3 separate regions of the Homo sapiens genome follow, and all the other regions are linked to region 2. The links are contacts of gene promoters, found by promoter capture Hi-C in blood cells and fetal thymus (Javierre and others, 2016). All regions are on one chromosome and are shown on one strand. The core of a region is centred on a gene start or on the middle of the fragment in contact, and the rest is flanking DNA. Distances in the headings are between cores, read along the strand shown.

Evidence for each region. Contacts are between HindIII fragments. The CHiCAGO score rates a contact against its expected background, and 5 or more counts as called.
Region 1: a fragment that was not itself captured here is called in contact with the fragment with the promoter of LINC00608 in region 2 in 1 of 17 cell types (M2 macrophages); the score reaches 5.5 in M2 macrophages.
Region 3: a contact is called between a fragment that was not itself captured here and the fragment with the promoter of LINC00608 in region 2, in 4 of 17 cell types (M2 macrophages, M0 macrophages, endothelial precursors and 1 more). The highest score is 7.1, in M2 macrophages.

The regions. Positions count from the first base shown.
Region 1 is chr2:219,135,065-219,138,023 of GRCh38, reverse strand. The region is part of intron 5 of NHEJ1 (non-homologous end joining factor 1); the gene reads left to right. Among named protein-coding and RNA genes, the nearest start is that of NHEJ1, 24 kb to the left of the region's middle. The HindIII fragment of the contact is 2,560 bases long and covers 194-2,753 here.
Region 2 is chr2:218,974,968-218,977,667 of GRCh38, reverse strand. LINC00608 (long intergenic non-protein coding RNA 608) reads right to left here and starts at 1,384. Exons shown (of 2, transcript NR_024385.1): 1 at 270-1,384; 2 at 1-186. The HindIII fragment of the contact is 22,563 bases long and covers 1-2,020 here.
Region 3 is chr2:219,157,481-219,160,236 of GRCh38, reverse strand. NHEJ1 (non-homologous end joining factor 1) reads left to right here. Exons shown (of 8, transcript NM_024782.3): 2 at 1,875-2,051; 3 at 2,553-2,756. The coding sequence starts at 1,875. Among named protein-coding and RNA genes, the nearest start is that of NHEJ1, 2.0 kb to the left of the region's middle. The HindIII fragment of the contact is 2,637 bases long and covers 188-2,756 here.

The sequences.
Region 1 (2,959 bases), core at 224-2,723, 160 kb before region 2:
TCCTATTATGTGTGTCAGTTCTCCGACCTAGAAAAACTTGCAGTTAATTCATCCTTTCGGTATTCGGTCAGGTGCATGCGGGCTGAATGAGGTTCTGTGAGCATATAAGGTATGATAATATTGCCATCAAAGAGCTTATAGTGCTTAGTGAATGATAATAAGGGCCATAGTAGTGGAGTGATTAGAAAAAGCTTTCTATAAATGGCAGGACGTGAACTGGGCTTTGATTTAGGCTTTGATTGAAAACTATGTGGAAGACATTTTAGGTGGGAAGCACTTGGGCAAAGGATGGAAAATAAGAATAAGAATGGATGAGGATTAGTAGAAAATAAAGTTAGCAAGATAATAACTTGAGGCTAAATTGTGGGGGCCTTAAATGTTGGGCTGGCAGATTAGTGTTTTATTCTGAAGGTGGTTTTCAGTTTTTTTTGTTTTTTTTTTTTTTTTTTTTTTGCCTGTAACACATTTATTTCTCCATTTAGTTCAATTGTTAACGACTGTCATTATGTGCTGTGATTCTCAAGTGGGGACACATCTCCTAGGAGGGAGATGGGGCACATTCTCCTTGCACTTATTAATTACTGTTGCAGATAGTGGGAAGCCATTGAAAGTTTTGACTGGAGAATTGACATATGAAGGTGATCTTTAGGAATATTAGGCTCTTGGTCATATGCTTATGTGATTTGAAGAATAGTGATGCCATTGATAGACTAGGAAGATCATGGGTGGGGTCGGTTTAACCGTGGGCATATAAAAGAATTGTTTTCCTTACTGAAAATATGAATGTACCAGTATTTGAGCTCTGGAATGAAAATCTCCAGGGAGGAAGGTATGGCTGTGCATGTTTCTCAACTATATTTTGTTTTTTCTGAATTTCACCTTCTCTTTGGGGTTTTCTCACTGTGAATCCTGTAGTAACCAGGGGTTACCACTTCTTTTTTTTTTTTTTTTTCTCAAGAAGAGCTAAAAAGACCTCTTTCTTTATTTTCCTTTTGCAAAGGCTTATAAGGGCTTATGTTTTCAAAAGGAAATTTATTAAAAATTTTAAAGTAATTTTTTAAAAAAATTGTTAAAATTTTGAGAGAGAAAAAAAAGGAAATCAATATAGAAAATACAAATGGGGCCAGGTGCGGTGGCTCAGGTCTGTAATCCCAGCACTTTGGGAGGCTGAGGCGGGCAGATCAGTTGAGGTCGGGAGTTTGAGATCAGCCTGGCCAACATGGCGAAACCCCATCTCTACTAAAGATAAGAAAACTAGCTGGGTGCAATGGTGGGTGCCTGTAATCCCAGCTACTCAGGAGGCTGAAGCAGGAGAATCGCTTGAATCTCGGAGGCAGAGGTTGCAGTGAGCCGAGATTGTGCCACTGCACTCCAGCCTGGGCAACAGAGCAAGACTCCATCTCAAAGAAACAAACAAATAAAGAAACCAAGTAGGGGCTACGTGTGGTGGCTCACGCCTATAATCCCAACAGTTTGGGAGGCTGAGGTGGGTGGATCACCAGAGGTCAGGAGTTCGAGACCAGCCTGGCTAACATGGCGAAACTCCATCTCTACTAAAAATACAAAAATTAGCCGGGCTTGGTGGCACAGGCTTGTGATCCCAGCTACTTGGGAGACTGAGGCAGGAGAATCACTTGAACTCTGGAGGCTGAGGTTGCAGTCAGCCAAGATTGCATCACTGCACTCCAGCCTGAGCGACAAAGCGAGACCTTGTCTCTAAAAAAAAAAAAAAAAAAAGAAACCAAGTGGGAATACATTATGAGAAAGACACTGTCTCAGAAAAAGAAAGAAAGAATACAAAGGGGGTAAAAATTATCCATTTTGGGTTTCTGATTCTAAGAATCCCAATAGCAAAGGAGTTTCCCATATCTCAAATTCTCTTATCCTAAAAAATCTCAAAACCAGATATTACAAAATCAGATATCTGCAGGGGCCAGTCATATTACATAAACATGTATATCAGGCTGGATAGAAGACAACAGAGAGTTGTAGGGGCCTGTGGAAAACGAAATCATGCATGTCCCTGTATCTAGACCTGGATAGGCTAGCACAGTTTAACAGACTGCGCTCCAGGGGGTTGTATATCTTACTTTACTCAAAGGAAGTTACCAACTCTGCCAAAGTGAAAACTATTTTTTCCTCTGTTTTGCTCCATCAAATCCACCATTAGTCTCTCATTTGGTTTATTTATTTATTTATTTGTTTTCTAAAAGAGACAGGATCTCACTATGTAGCCGAGGGCTGGTCTTGAACTCCTGGGCTCAAGCAATTTGCCTGCCACAGCCTCCCAAAGTGCTGGGATTACAGGCATGAGCCACACTTACTTGCTTTAAATCTCCAGTCTAAGAAATCCATTTGGTTCAGATTTGATTTGTGAGGCAGTGATGATGTTTGATGTCTTACTTCTTTACTTTTGAGACGGAATCTCACTCTGTCCTGTAGGCTGGAGTGCAGTGGGGTGATCTCGGCTCACTGCAACCTCTGCCTCCTGGGTTCAAGCAATTCTCCTGCCTCAGCCTCCTGAATTACTAAGATTACAGGCACCTGCCACCACGCCTGGCTAATTTTTTTGTATTTTTAGTAGAGACAAGGTTTCACCGTGTTGGCCAGGCTGGTCTCAAACTCCTGACCTTGAGTGATCCACCCACCTCGGCCTCCCAAAGTGCTGGGATTACAGGCGTGAGCCACTGTGCCCGGCCTTGATGTCTTACTTCTGACAAATACCTAGCCCTTTTGGGCCTAACCTATAAGCTTCATGTACCTCCAGAGCTTTTTGTGAAGATTTACACAGTTGAGTCTCCCTCCTCTTTCCCCTAGTAGAAGAAGGGTTTCATAAAAATCCATTTGTTACAGTATGGTAATTTAACAATGCCTTAGCCTATTTTTTACAAAATCAGTGGCTTATTTATAATTAGAGTTAATTTAAAAACATAAGATGAAGATTTTTTTCACATACATG
Region 2 (2,700 bases), core at 135-2,634:
GCAGTATTGGGACACGTGGTTGGAAGCTCCAGTAAAACAGATGTCACCTTGATCTAATGAAAAGCCTCTGCCATGGAACATGTTGGGTGAGTTCTCTGTCACCAGAGTGTTCAGCAGACCCTTCTGTGAGAAGCAGAGAGGGGAGGTGGACTAGGCGACTTCTCTAACCTTGAGACTCTTGGAATCCTGTGAAGGAGTCAATAAAGGGGGGATTTTAGTCATTGTTGGGGAGCTGGGGGAGATATTGTTAGATTAAGGGATCTTCTTACCTATGAAATTGCATCCTTAAAGCTCACCCCATTACTCTGTTCTTTCCTGTCCACATAGCCAGTTTGGGAGGCTAAGATATAGAACTGGGAACCAGAAATTCTGAGTTCCAGTTGCAGCTTGGCAACTAACTTGCTGTGTGACCTTCACATAATCACATCTCTTTTCTGGGATTTCATTCTCCTCTCATTTAAATAATAAGGCTGAACCAGAGATTTGCAAACTCTGCTCTGTGGAACTTTAAGGGTCAATTAGGTTCTCTCTGTTCCAAAAAAAAAAAAAAAGAAGAGCTGGAAAACGTCTATCCAAGATGACCTACAGGTCGAACCCAATCTCAGAATGCAGTAGATGGGTATCCTCTTCTCCAGATTATCTCAGCTCTAGGAGCCCCTGCCTTTGTGATGTCTCCAAGCCCTGAGTTACTGTGGTCTTGGCAGGACTGTACTCCACCCAATCCCTGAAGAAGCCACAGTCTTACCACACTCAGCTTCCTGATGATCCAGGCCTGTCCTCATGGACCCTTAACCCCTTGGTCCTTGGCTCTCCAAGGTATCGATCCCACCATTGCTTTCCTCTGCCAATCCAGGGTCAAGCCCCTCTTGCATTTTCTGAAGTTCTGAGCCTTTTCTTTATCACCTCATTCAAGTCGCTAGTGAAAGTATGGTTCACTCCCCTGCCGTATGCTTGCACTACAGTTTACAAAATGCTTTCACACCCATCACTTTTTTGACCCCTCCAAGGTTAGGAAGACAGGGCAGGTATTGCTTTATCTGCTGGGAGGATAAATAAACGAAGGCCCCAGATGTTAAATGACTTGGTTGAAGTCCCAGGGCTTGTTCTAAGACCTGTATCTTCTTATTCCTCTGCCAGACCTTTTCCCACTGCTCCAAGTGACCTTTCCACAGTCCTGAGCAGTCACTGATCACTTTGTTTTTAGGATCATTCCCATGCAGGATGACACAGACCCATATCTCCTCCAGTAACATGCGCTCTGTGCAACTAAGCTCCACACACTATCACTTGCAGATGGAATTAGAAGCCCTGCTAACATGCAGCTTGAGGACATTCATGTCCATACTGTTTGGGACCTGCACAGTCACAGTGCAATGATGCCACTGAAGGCACTGAGGCTCACAGAGCACTCTCATATGCCAGCTCACGTGACCATAGACAGACATCATAATGGGCCACTGTGATGCACTTTTCTCAGAGCCTTCTGCTCTTCTGGCCTCCACCTTTCCTTTAATATGTCTTTGAAATGCACCAAAATGAACTTGTTTCTTTAGCTATTTATAATCCATGTCAAGTGGATCTGCTGATGATAAAAGTATGCCTTACCACTCATTGAACATGACTCTGCCAGGCTCTGCCCTATGCTAATGTTTTACAGGTGGTATTTCCTTTGACCTGGCTACAACCTTACCAGATGGGGATGGTTATCTCTGTTTTCAAATGAGGGAACCAAGGCTTGGAGAAGTGAAGTGGCTGGGCCAGCCCATGACCTGACAACTGAAATCCTTACCATCCCACTAGATCCCCTCTTACTGGCCTTCCTGGATAGCTTCTTCCTCATGTAAACATGACCTGCTGCTTGCCCAGTACAGGTGCACACCGCCTACAATTGGTTATAAAGGACAAACTGACAGCTTGCCTTATGAGTGTCCTTGGTTAGGTCTCTGTTTGATAAGGAAGTACATTTTGTCCCTGATAAGAAATAGAGACTATTTTGTTGCCCCAATGCCTTTTGCAAGCTTTCACTTTCCTAACTGAGGCGCTGCAGGCTTGGAGAAGATCACTGTACTCTGAGGTGGGGTGGGGCTCTGATTATATATTGACTTGAGTGGCATTTCCTACTTTTGTTTGGTCAGCAGGATTTCTCCATGACACTCCTCCATCTTGGGATGACGCATGTCATGTATAGAGGTGAATGGTTCAATGTCCCATTGACTGTGATGTTTCCTATTTCTTTTGTTTTCTTTGTTTAGAGATAGAGTCTCACTCTGTTGCCCAGGCTGGAGGACAGTGACATGATCATAGCTTACTGCAACCTTGAACTCCTGGGCTCAAGAGATCTTCCCATCTCAGCCTCCCATGTAGCTGAGACTACAGGCATGCACCACCATGCCCAGCTTGTTTTAATCTTATTTTGCTTTTGTAGAGATAGGGGTCTCACTGTGTTGCCCTGGCTGGCGTCAAACTCCTGGCTACAGATGATTCTCCCACCTTGGCCTCCCAAAGTGCTTGGATTACAGGCATGAGACACTGTGCCTGGATGAATATTTCTTTCTTTCTTTCTTTTTTTTTTTTTTTTGAGACAGAGCCTTGCTCTGTCGTCCAGGCTAGTGCAATCTTGGCTCTCAGCAACTTCCACCTCCTGGGTTCAAGTGATTCTCCTGCCTCAGCCTCCCATGTAGCTGGGATTACAGGCACCCA
Region 3 (2,756 bases), core at 257-2,756, 180 kb before region 2:
GAGGAACTGCCCAGAGGGGTCACTGCTGAGGAGCGGACTCGGTGCAGATAAAGGTTCTCAAGGGACCCCTCCGCCGGGATGCCGCTCAGCGCCCCTCCACTCAAGAGAAATAAACCCGTGAATCTCGTTAATGTGAATGTTAGAGGCAGCCTTGAAGGAAAAAAGAAAAGGATGAAGTGTAGAAGCTTCGGACGCAGAACGGGACGCGTGTGGTGGGAGCAGGCAGCCGGGGTCTGGTGCCCAATGTGTCAGGCCTTTTTATAGGGCCCGTTACTCCTGGCCACATTTTAAACTCCTCCCCCTTTACCCAACAGACAAACAAAACCCATCAATTTGAGGGTTCTGAGCTTCCGGGCTTTCCGAAGGAATGGGCTAGAATAGTAAACCCAATTTTGGCAACTGTTAAGAGTACACTGGGGAGTGCCTATAAGGGAGATGAAAGTGGCGACTTTATTCGCGTTTGTGACCTTTGGCATTGTGGAGCTCTTGTCCGGCTAGGACTAGCTTAATCATCCCATGACCACTTCTGTCCCCATAAGAGCAGCATGTGGGAAATGTGACGGAAACACCATCCTCCAAACACAAGGCTTTGAGGATGCCATAAAGAAAGATCACCACGTATATGTATATATATGCATATATATATATGCATATATATATGCATATATATATGCATATATATATGCATATATATATATGCATATATATATGCATATATATATAAAGTTATGTCACAAGTCACAAGGGCACACTTCAAAAGCTAGGGGAAATGACTGTGTTAATCAGACTTAATAAGGAATTTCATTATTTACATTCTAAATTTTTCCTTCCTGGTACTTCTGTTCATTTTATATTTGTAGACTGGAATAATGAAGGAAATTGACATATTTTTTTCTCCCCCACAGGAAAAACAATCACATTCTCTGTCAAGCAGCCGTAGTTCTGATTGTCTACTAGGTTAAGCCTACTACTTTAGCTGCTGAGATAGAAAAGTTGTTTTGCAGGGGTTCCAGGCTGGGCATGTTGTCATTGGTGGCAGTGCACTGGAGTGGGAATGTGGAGGATGAGTTAAGTGGAAGTTAATTCAGTCTTTACCTCTGTGATGTGCTCTGCCTTGTATTCATGATTTCCTAGTCATTCTGGTTTTTGTTGAAATGAAATTTAGGTCTTTTCTGTTGCTCCTGGACACAGGTTCTTAGCTCTTTTTTGTGTCATCGATCCCTGAGAGTTTGATGATAGCTGTAGACCTCTTCCCCCTCCCCATGCATATATGCGTGTACACATAACATTTTCATATAATTCTAGAGGATTCACATGCATTGACTCTAGATTAAGAACCTGTTTTAGGGATTTTTAAAAAAATCCTGAGAGCTTCCTAAACTTTGTTTTTAGATAATGATCAAATACTTCGAATTTCCTGGCCCTGACACTATGACTTATGATGTTTTATAAGACAAGAACTATTCCTTCTCTTCTAGTTCTGGGAAAGGATAGGAGTGACATATTTATTAGGAATGTGATAAAGATGGAACAAGAAGGGTTTAGGTTTCCACGTTATGTTATAGTATTAGAAAGCAGAAATACTAACAGCAATATGCTGAGGTTTAAACACTATGGAAGAAAGATTTTCTGTCCTCTAGGAATGTAATATGGGAAAAAAAAAACCCTCAAGATTTTAAATATACTTTTAGTGGCCAGGAGGTAGTAAAGTCAGTGCTCAGCTGGTTGTATACTGGGAGAACGTAAATCCATGCCTTCTATTTTATCAGGGAGGATTTTCATGAGATTTTAGTTGATACAGACTGGTTTGGGTGGTGCCCTCCCTAGGCCAGCATGACCCTGAGGCTCTTTACTAAATGAGGACTTTTTTGCAGATGGAAGAACTGGAGCAAGGCCTGTTGATGCAGCCATGGGCGTGGCTACAGCTTGCAGAGAACTCCCTCTTGGCCAAGGTTTTTATCACCAAGCAGGGCTATGCCTTGTTGGTTTCAGATCTTCAACAGGTGTGGCATGAACAGGTGGACACTAGTGTGGTCAGCCAGCGAGCCAAGGTAAGTATGAGGAGAAGTACTGCTGTGTCGGGGATGTGAACATCAACCAGCTTGCTGGCCTGTAGTTTCCCAAGGAAGGTTGAATCGGGTTGAGACAATTCCAGTTAATGTCCTGTACTTCTACCTGTACTTCTGCCTGGAATCTTTGTGTGTGTGTGTGTGTGTGTGTGTGTGTGTGTGTGTGTGTGTGTGTGAGAGAGAGAGAGAGAGAGAAAGAAAGTTAGTTTCCCTACCCTATGCATGATAATGAATATATTATTTGATCTAGATAGGCCTTTTGTGATTTAATCTTGCCCAAGGCAGAATTGTGAAGTAGGCCAATTGGTCTTTGTGACTCTCTTCTTTTTGTTTTCTTCTTTCCCCTTGTGATGTTTTTATCTTCTCTCCCCTTCCTCTCATGTCCATTGCCTTCGTGTTAACCAGGGCTTTCCTTTGCTGTTACTTATGAGGGAATTAGTTTCCTTTTAGCACCCTTACTCTGTACCACTGCTCTCTCTTTAGGAGCTGAACAAGCGGCTCACTGCTCCTCCTGCAGCTTTCCTCTGTCATTTGGATAATCTCCTTCGCCCATTGTTGAAGGACGCTGCTCACCCTAGCGAAGCTACCTTCTCCTGTGATTGTGTGGCAGATGCACTGATTCTACGGGTGCGAAGTGAGCTCTCTGGCCTCCCCTTCTATTGGAATTTCCACTGCATGCTAGCTAGT